Linked DNA regions of Homo sapiens: regions 2 and 3 are each linked to region 1. Evidence: promoter capture Hi-C in 16 types of primary human blood cells and fetal thymus (Javierre and others, 2016). All regions are on one chromosome and are shown on one strand. The core of a region is centred on a gene start or on the middle of the fragment in contact, and the rest is flanking DNA. Distances in the headings are between cores, read along the strand shown.

What was found. Contacts are between HindIII fragments. The CHiCAGO score rates a contact against its expected background, and 5 or more counts as called.
Region 2: a fragment that was not itself captured here is called in contact with the fragment with the promoter of CCN1 in region 1 in 1 of 17 cell types (endothelial precursors); the score reaches 5.7 in endothelial precursors.
Region 3: a fragment that was not itself captured here is called in contact with the fragment with the promoter of CCN1 in region 1 in 1 of 17 cell types (endothelial precursors); the score reaches 6.7 in endothelial precursors.

The regions. Positions count from the first base shown.
Region 1 is chr1:85,579,410-85,582,427 of GRCh38, forward strand. It overlaps CCN1 (cellular communication network factor 1), which reads left to right and starts at 1,352. Exons shown (of 5, transcript NM_001554.5): 1 at 1,352-1,638; 2 at 1,956-2,169; 3 at 2,519-2,875; 4 at 3,007-3,018. The coding sequence starts at 1,576. RefSeq lists enhancers at 920-1,442, 1,173-1,222, 2,489-3,010 and silencers at 1,333-1,462, 1,893-1,952, 1,963-2,012, 2,023-2,072. The HindIII fragment of the contact is 3,344 bases long and covers 673-3,018 here.
Region 2 is chr1:85,395,325-85,398,512 of GRCh38, forward strand. All of the region lies in intron 1 of DDAH1 (dimethylarginine dimethylaminohydrolase 1), which reads right to left. Among named protein-coding and RNA genes, the nearest start is that of DDAH1, 68 kb to the right of the region's middle. The HindIII fragment of the contact is 914 bases long and covers 1,008-1,921 here.
Region 3 is chr1:85,366,634-85,369,898 of GRCh38, forward strand. The region is part of intron 1 of DDAH1 (dimethylarginine dimethylaminohydrolase 1); the gene reads right to left. Among named protein-coding and RNA genes, the nearest start is that of BCL10, 92 kb to the left of the region's middle. The HindIII fragment of the contact is 3,452 bases long and covers 1-3,265 here.

The DNA.
Region 1 (3,018 bases), core at 102-2,601:
GTGGGGTCTTCTACTGAGTGTGTTGCAAGTAGAACGGGATCTTAAAATCTGCTGACATTTTTACTGCAAAATATTACATCCTAAATCTCTTTTCTGTACTTGGAGAGAAGGGCATTGCAATTCATTTAAAATGGGAGGCTTCCAGTGGTCCCTAGGAAAGGAGTTAAAAACCCCACAAAATGTCCAGCTTGAAGGAGTCTGCTTTTCCCAGAGATTCATAGGGCACAATGGTCCTGGAATCTGGTTTGGCCTTGCGGTCTTTGCAGGTGATGATTTCAGGCCACTCCACGGTGGTCTCCTGCACTTCTGGCTGGCTGCTTGGTTAGCATAGCCTCCTGCCCGCGGAGGGAGGCGGGAAGGGCTTACCCCGTCTCCTGCATCCGTGAGGAAGTATAAGTCAGCCTCCCGGAGAACTCCCCGCGTTCGTTTCCTCTCGGACTTCCAACCCAGGCAGTGGGCTGGAACTAAAGTGGGAACCTCCAAAAACAAACAAGTACAACATACCCAAAAGAGGGAAGGGCTGGAGGAGTGGGGGAGACCTCTGCCTGGGAATTTGCCAGACGATGGGCAAGTTTCCCCCCGCCCCACCCCCCCCCCGCCTTTTCATTCATAAATGCCACTGTGGGTATTAATTTGCAATTCACTGAACTTTGCTAATAAACATCATGCCAAAGCTTTGGGACTTGTTCCGAACACGCCTCTTTGAAGTCCACAAATATTCCTGACTCAGAGACACACTCCTCTTCCCCGTTCTACTCTTTCAACAGATAACTTGCCTCTCACCTTCGCTGTAAAAAAGCAAACAGCTCACTGCCTTCCCGGGTGAGGGCTTCAGTGGCTGCCCGGTCAACTCGCATCACCAAACAAAACGACTTTTGTTCCTCCCTCTCAGGTCCTCCCACCCACCCAGTCCAGGCAAAGTTCTGAACTGGCCCCCCTCGCCCCTCACGACCCTCCAACTACCATCACCACCATCACGCCCCAAAGAACCCTTCCCAACATAAGTCGTAATTTAAGGTGGAAAAAACGAACTGTTTTCTTGACGGGTCTGGGACACACACACACACACACACACACACACACACACCCCCCGAACTGTTTTCTTGACGGGTCTGGGAGACAGACACACACACAGACACACACACACACACACACACACACACACACACACACACACACACACACACACAAAGGTGCAATGGAGCCAGGGGAGGCGCTTGGCAGCAGCCCGCGCCAACCAGCATTCCTGAGATGTTTGAGAATTCTGGAACGCGCAGACAGAGCCGACGTCACTGCAACACGCGGCGCCTCCGCCGGCCCGTATAAAAGGCGGGCTCCGGGGCGCCTGGGCAGACCGCGAGCGAGAGCGCCCCCGAGCAGCGCCCGCGCCCTCCGCGCCTTCTCCGCCGGGACCTCGAGCGAAAGACGCCCGCCCGCCGCCCAGCCCTCGCCTCCCTGCCCACCGGGCCCACCGCGCCGCCACCCCGACCCCGCTGCGCACGGCCTGTCCGCTGCACACCAGCTTGTTGGCGTCTTCGTCGCCGCGCTCGCCCCGGGCTACTCCTGCGCGCCACAATGAGCTCCCGCATCGCCAGGGCGCTCGCCTTAGTCGTCACCCTTCTCCACTTGACCAGGCTGGTGAGTTGGACTCTCCTTTTGCCACCTATTCCCCGTCCGCTCTCCAGCCCCTTCCCCTGGTCCCAGATTGCCCACGGCAGGAAAAGTTAAAAAGTTCGCGATCGTTTGCGGGTAGCCGTTTCTTTAAGCACTCTCCCCCTCCCCCCGAAGACGTGTCGGGACCTCTTGGTGGGAGCAGCCTTCCGAGGTGGCCGGGCTGGACGAGATCAGAGGCTCCCCGTCGATAGGGTCGGAGACCCCCGTCCCTCACTGCGGCAGCCGCGGCGCCCCTCCTGCGCACCGCGCCGAGTCTCACGCGTATCTTCTCCCCCTTCCAGGCGCTCTCCACCTGCCCCGCTGCCTGCCACTGCCCCCTGGAGGCGCCCAAGTGCGCGCCGGGAGTCGGGCTGGTCCGGGACGGCTGCGGCTGCTGTAAGGTCTGCGCCAAGCAGCTCAACGAGGACTGCAGCAAAACGCAGCCCTGCGACCACACCAAGGGGCTGGAATGCAACTTCGGCGCCAGCTCCACCGCTCTGAAGGGGATCTGCAGAGGTAAGATGCTTGTGGTTTGGCCCCTTTAAAAAAAATACTAGTCCCCATAGTCCAGAAGTTTAGTAATTCTGAGACCATGTATGGTGATGCTTTGTTGTTGGTAGCTTGGCAGAAAGGCACATGATTTCAGCAGTCTGGAATGCAATTCAGTGTGTCTGGGCCCAACGAAAGCGCATACGGAAAAGTGATTCCTGACTAACTTATTGTTCTGGTCTGGAGTCTCCGGGGAATTGTAGGGAACTTTACCATAAATTGAATTTAACAGCAGAAAATATGTATGAGTTTCAGGCGGTGGTTTGGAATCTTAACTTTATCCCCTTCTACCTTTCTCTTTTGGTGATCTTTGCAGCTCAGTCAGAGGGCAGACCCTGTGAATATAACTCCAGAATCTACCAAAACGGGGAAAGTTTCCAGCCCAACTGTAAACATCAGTGCACATGTATTGATGGCGCCGTGGGCTGCATTCCTCTGTGTCCCCAAGAACTATCTCTCCCCAACTTGGGCTGTCCCAACCCTCGGCTGGTCAAAGTTACCGGGCAGTGCTGCGAGGAGTGGGTCTGTGACGAGGATAGTATCAAGGACCCCATGGAGGACCAGGACGGCCTCCTTGGCAAGGAGCTGGGATTCGATGCCTCCGAGGTGGAGTTGACGAGAAACAATGAATTGATTGCAGTTGGAAAAGGCAGCTCACTGAAGCGGCTCCCTGGTAAGTGGAGACTGAGCACTTCAGACACTGTACTGAGATGCATTTCTGGTCTAAATCTTTGTAGAAATGAGTGCTTGAGCCTGTTTGTGTCGGTATGCCTCTGAGAAGTCTTCCCTCTTATATGTCTCTAGTTTTTGGAATGG
Region 2 (3,188 bases), core at 215-2,714, 180 kb before region 1:
GGAAAAAGAAAAGTAAATTTTTGCCCTAAGGTAGAATGACTGGTTGTTTCAATATGAAAACGAGGAGATTGGGCGCAGTGGCTCATGCCTGTAGTCCCAGCACTTTGGGAGGCCAAGGTGGGTGGATCACCTGAGGGAGGGAGTTCAAGACCAGCCTGACCAACATGGAGAAACCCTGTCTCTACTAAAAATACAAAATCAGCTGGGCGTGGTGGTGCATGCCTGTAATCTCAGCTACTTGGAAGGCTGAAGGAGGAGAATCGCTTGAACCTGGGAGGCAGAGATTGCGGTGAGCTGAGATCGCACCATTGCACTCCAGCCTAGGCAACAAGAGTGAGACTCCATCTCAAAAAAAAAAAAAGAAAAAAGAAAAAGAAGTGAAGGTTTGAGCAAGCTGCACGAGGTCTTTGCAAGTTTTAGAAGATTTATGGAAGATGAATCTTATGAAAGGAATTTTGAGTGTGATCAAGTTGGCTAAAATTAAAAAAGAATTGTTTTTAGGTTTTTCTAAAAATTAAGCTTTATTTTTAAAATTTTAAAACAAGGTTTTCTTGACATGTACTGATCTTTTCTTATTAAAAAAATTGTGAGACTTTTTAGGTATGTGGCCTAGAAAAGAAAGATTCTGTATTTTGTCAAAATAATTTCTGTGCTTCATGTTTTCTTTCTTAGGTCATTAATTACTTAGGAAAACTGAGTCTCCTCTTTATTATAAGAGTTAAGATTTTCTACAGCTATGTAACTTCTTTTGAAGTATTTTAATTATCATTGTGGCTAAATGAGTATTATATTCAAACACTTGATCAAAAATGTGATCCTATTTTTGATCAAGTGTTTGAATCTTTTTGACAAACTTCCCAAAATGAAATTCTAAGTCTCCTTGTCTTAGTCCCTTTAGAGCTGCTATAAAGGAATACCTAAGGCTGGATAATTTATGAAGAAAAGAGGTTTACTTGACTCACAGTTTTCCTGGCTGGAAGACTGGGCATCTGACAAAAGCCTCAGGAAGCTTCCACTTATGGCAGAAAGCAAAAGGGAGTCACAGTACAGAGATCACATGGCCACAGAGGGAGCAAGAGAGGAGTGGGGAGGTGACAGGCTCTTTTAAACAACCAGCTCTCACAGGAACTAATAGAATGGAAACTCACTCATCGCAAAGAAGACACCAAGCCATTCACGAGGGATCCATCCCCATGACCCAAACACCTCCCATTAAGCCCCACCTCCAGCATTGGGGATCAAATTTCAACATGAGATTTGGGGGACAAACATCCAAACCACAGCCACCTGGAAGTCCAAAAGAGAGATATTAAACCAATTAGGTTTATTTGATATGTTAAATTATATAGGAAATATTGTCAATAAGAGATAACGTTTAACCGTCTTTTCCTTACATTTGTATAGATACGATATTAAAATATTTATTCAGGCCAGGTGTGGTGGCTCACACCTGCAATTCCTGCACTTTGGGAGGCTGAAGTGGGCAGATTGCTTGAGTCCGGGAGTTCAAGACCACCCTGGGCAACATGGTAAAACCCTATTGCTATAAGAAATACAAAGAATAACCAGGCATGGTGGCACACAGGTGTAGTCCTAGCTACTCGGGAGGCTGAGAGGTGGGAGGATCGCCTGAGCCCAGGAGGCAGAGGCTGCAGTGAGCCATGATCACATCACTGCACTCCAGGCTGGGTGATAGTGTGAGACCCTGTCTTAAAAAAAAAAAAAAAGGTTTTTCAAAATTGCATTAAATTTCTAGAAATCAATCATAATTTTGGTTATTATGTTAAAATGTTGTATGCCACAGAAATAACACAATTTCTTTGTCAGCTGCATCATTATAGACTCTCATCAGGTTTTCAATGATGGCTATTTTAAGTCTTATTGTCCTCAGTTAATTGCTTTATTCTGATGCTGTTCTGAAAGCTTTTTGCAAGAACCATAATCTTCAAAGAAGTTCATGGAAAGAATGGAAAAAATTCTGACAAGTACAGGTTTGTGACAACTTTGAGATAGCACTGGATTGGGTAAGAATTTGTAGAACTCTAAGAAAGAAACTGGTAGTTTAGTGAAACTATCAACTAAGATCAAACAGAGCAAGAATTAATTACATTAGACTGAAAAACTGATAAGGAAAAAGTAAGGGTTTTTATTGCTTTTTTATTTAAAACATTGCTGGTTCTCTTAATGTTTTATTTTCCAGATTTAAGAAAACGATTTTTTAAAGCTATCTCTAGCTCACAATGGTTTGGTAGAGTACACTTTTATAAACAAAAATTGAAACATTCCATCTTTCTCCTTAATATGATTATTTTCATAAGCTCAATAAGAATTTGCTCTCTGTATTACACAATACAATTGGAAACACTGGTTTAATTGCCAAGGCTTTGACTGAAATGTAATATTTGAGAATTAATAGAATGCCTCGCTTCAAGGATTCCCAGTGTGATACAGTTTGGATGTTTATCCCCTCTAAATCTCATGCTGAAATCTGATCCCCAGTGTTGAAGGTAGGGCCTGGTGGGAGGCCTCTCTCGCTATGTGACTCTACTGACTCCCCTAGCCTCCTACCATAAGTAAAAGCTTTCTGAGCCCCTCACCGGAAGTTGAGGAGATGCTGGTGCCATGCTTCTTATATAGCCTGCAGAGCTGTAAGCCAAATAAACCTCTTTTTTTTTTTTTTTCATAAATTACCCAGTCTCACATATTCCTTTATAGCAACACAAAGTGGACTTACACACAGCATTACAGTGAGTGAGTAAAAAGTTGTCACTTCCTGGCAGGCCTAGGAACCTCAAGACACTAGATAACCATAGACAAAGTAGACAAAGTCTGATGTCGGCCTTGGTTTGGCTTCCTAGTGATGAGAGGTTTTTAAAAGTATAATCTGAGATTGTTTGTCAAAATTTCCAGCAAATCAAATTTAAAAAGAACTGTGTGGTTATTCTTGCTGTACTTATATACAAATAATCAGGTGAAGTTTAATGAGACGAAACTTATTTTGCAAACAAATTAGTCTTACTCTGATTATCTTTGGTAGAAATGGGGGTGATTATAGACAGAAAAATTATGTTGCAAAAGAAAAACTATAGTACACCTTTTAGTAGATTGCAGCCTTGTTCACTTTTTCCCTAGACTGGACTGGATCCTGAATTCTTTTAGTGCACTACCTCCAGTATCTAGCTTCAACT
Region 3 (3,265 bases), core at 352-2,851, 210 kb before region 1:
TACCCCAGATGGTTACTCATGAGTAAAGTATTCTGGTGTTTAACCAAATCCAATCAGAGGCAAGAGGCTGGATATATGAATGCAGACAAGATAGGGCAAACCTAAAAGTGGATTAAAAAAACTCCAGAAAGATGGGAATCCTCAGAGGCAAACAGAAGATTCCAATGCAGTGGGAAACAAAGAGTGTGTCAACTCAACACTAACTTATGATACTTATATTTTATTTTTTTGGAAGAACCCATCACACAGTTTCTCCAAGGATGCTAATTACTTGCCAGTAGTGAGATAAGTATATGACACAGAGAATCTACAATGCTTTTCCTATAAGAGAGACGTCAGGCTCTGCTTATTTGCCAACCTTTGTGTGTTTTCTTATTTATATTCACATGCAGTATAGTAGATTTCATCAACTTTGGGTTCATTCCCTAAGTTGGACTGAGCTGTTAAATCCAACCCTAGAGCCCTGGAGTTCTTGATATATGAGATTTTTCATTTCCCAAACCAATCTGAGTTGAGTTTTCTGTTAGCTGCACCTAAAAATAACTCATTTATTCCCATGATCGATCTTAACCTGAAAAAGAAGGATCTAACAAGCTCCAGGCCGATGCTCTGAGACACAGGGTCAAGTCATTCTTTCTGCTTTGTCCTACTCCTGACCATATACCTGGGTGCTGCTTTGGTTCTTTTCCCTGAAGTCCTGTTCTAGTTACCTATCCCATTCCCTTCCTATGAGTAGGGTCCTGCTATGCGCTCTGAGGATTTGAGTAGATGGGCTTCCCCAGGTGATCCCTGTTATCTTTATCTCCTCAACACACAATCAGTATCAACAAGGTTTGAGGAACCTCTTAACCACTCATAACACTATCATTAATAATAAATACAATTTATTAAGCTCTTTCTAAGTGCCAAGCATTGTGCTAAGTGATTTTGCATGGATTATGTCATTTAATTATCACCATATTCCTTAAGGTACCTCCCAGTCTAAATCAGGCATGGCAGTTCTGTCTCTTATGCCAGGGTCTGGTGCAAGTGACCCAATATTGGCCACTGAGGGGGTGTCTGTTGAGAGGTTCCTGGAGCCATAGAAAGAAACATAATTCCTCTTCTTCCCTTGGACATTGTTCTGTATAGATGTTGTACCTGGAACTGGTGAGAACACATCCATCATCAAATATGGCAGGGCAGAGAGAGGGAAGCAATTTGAGCCTTTGATGACATTTTGAGCTGCCAAATCCAACCCTAGAGCCCTGGAGTTCTTAATATATAAGATTTTTCATTTTATTAACCAATTTGAGTTTTCTGTTAGCTGCAGCTAAAAGTAACTCATTTAGGTATACAACAAAATTGACAAGTAGTATCCAAAGAGTCAGTAATAACAGGCCACTTTATCAAACTGATTAAATTCTGATACAGAAACAACTATTAATGGAGGATTTTTTTCTGTTTATAGGAATGCACCATGCTATTTATAACCACTTACAACACTAAGACCATCCTGCCTATAGAAGACAGTAGATTGTCAAACTAAAAGCATCCCAGGATTATGTTAGTTTATAAAGCACAATTGTTGCAGCTCTGTATATCAGAGCTGGAATTAATATTTCAACACTCTTCATCTCTGAACCAGTGCTCAGATCCAAAGGGCATATAGCATCTAGGAAGATTAGACAGAAATGTGGAAGGCAAACCCACGGAGCCAGGAGAAATAAAAAGCACTCTGGACAAAACTAGGAAAGACCCTTTTCATTATCTGGAGAATACACTGAGAAAGTTCCAGAGGTTCAAAGGTCCCTCCATAACGATGTCACTACAAGACAGTTTCCCGGAAGAAGGCTGGAAGTGACATTTAGCTTTCTAAATGAAAAACAAGGCAGGAGCTCTGCTGGTCTTGTCAGCTCTCTTGATATATAATGTACTAATTCAAGCGGTTCAATTCCTTGTTGACGATAATGATACAATACATGTATTGAGTACTTAAAAGCCACTGACGTTCTGTCTGCAGGGGGCAAATAAAAATATGATTTATCACCAAATACCAAATTAAAATAAGTGTCAGCTGCCAAAAGACCTGCAAAATTTAGTAGGCTAAAAACCAGGGAACTGACAAGTTTATAAAATTCTAAACTAATTTTCCTGAATGTTGAGAAGCATAAAAATTTGCTGTGCACATGATCCAAAATAAGCACCAGAAATAGTACTCGAAGTGTTCATAATTTTCTGTGAATTCAGAGGAATCGCATGCTGCCAGACACAAACAGATTAATGTATGGGAAATATTTTGTATGTTCAGTATACAATTTATACATTGCAGGCATTAAGCTGCCCTAAAAGCCATCCAGCATATCCCTGCTCCCAGCCCAAATGTAGGTCCTGGCTGGGTCAGAGATTCCTTCTGTGTGCTCCCATGGCTCCCAGGGGATTCTTTTTTTTTTTTTTTTTTTTTTTGAGACAGGGTCTCACTCTGTCCTCCAGGCTGGAGTGCAGTGGTGCCATCATGGCTCACTGCAGCCTCAACCTCCCTGGCTCAAACAATCCTCCCACCTCAGCCTCCTGAGTAGCTGGGACTACAGGTGTGTGCCCAATGGCCAATTTTTTTTTTTTTTTTTTGTAGAGATGGGGTCTACTTATGCTGCCCAGGCTCGGGGCATTCTATTAACAAGTTCTGGCCCCTAGTTGACTCTCTGTATATGTTTACTGAATGAACAGCTGAACAACTTTGTAAGTCAGACAGAATTTCTGGAAATGTTATAAACAAGTATACGGCAAAAATATCCACCTTGTTTAGACAGGGCATAGCCACGGCAAGAGCCATACAACCTCTGTGACCTCTTTTAAACAACTCTTACGACATTTCAAGGGTGGGAAGATTCATCTTTATTTCTAAAAACCCGCAGGTGAGAAAACTACCGTTGGCCTATTTGTCCCAATAATCACTAACCGCCACTCATCTCCAGTAATTCTGTTCATTTGCTTAGTCATTCAACAAACATTTATTCAGCATTTTCAATATACCTGGCACTATTCTAGGTTCCAAGAATACATCAGCGAAGAGAGAAGAGCCCTGTGTATATTCTGGTGAGGATATGGAGAGATAGGCAATAAATAATAAACATTAAAAATATTAGTGGTAAGTGCTATGCAGTTATTTAATTCAGGAGATGTGATATAAAATGGCTAGGGTAGTTACTGTAGTTTGGAAGGTCAGGAACAGCCTTTCTGAAAGTGTGACATTTGTGCTGATATCTGAGTGACCAAAAGGACCAAC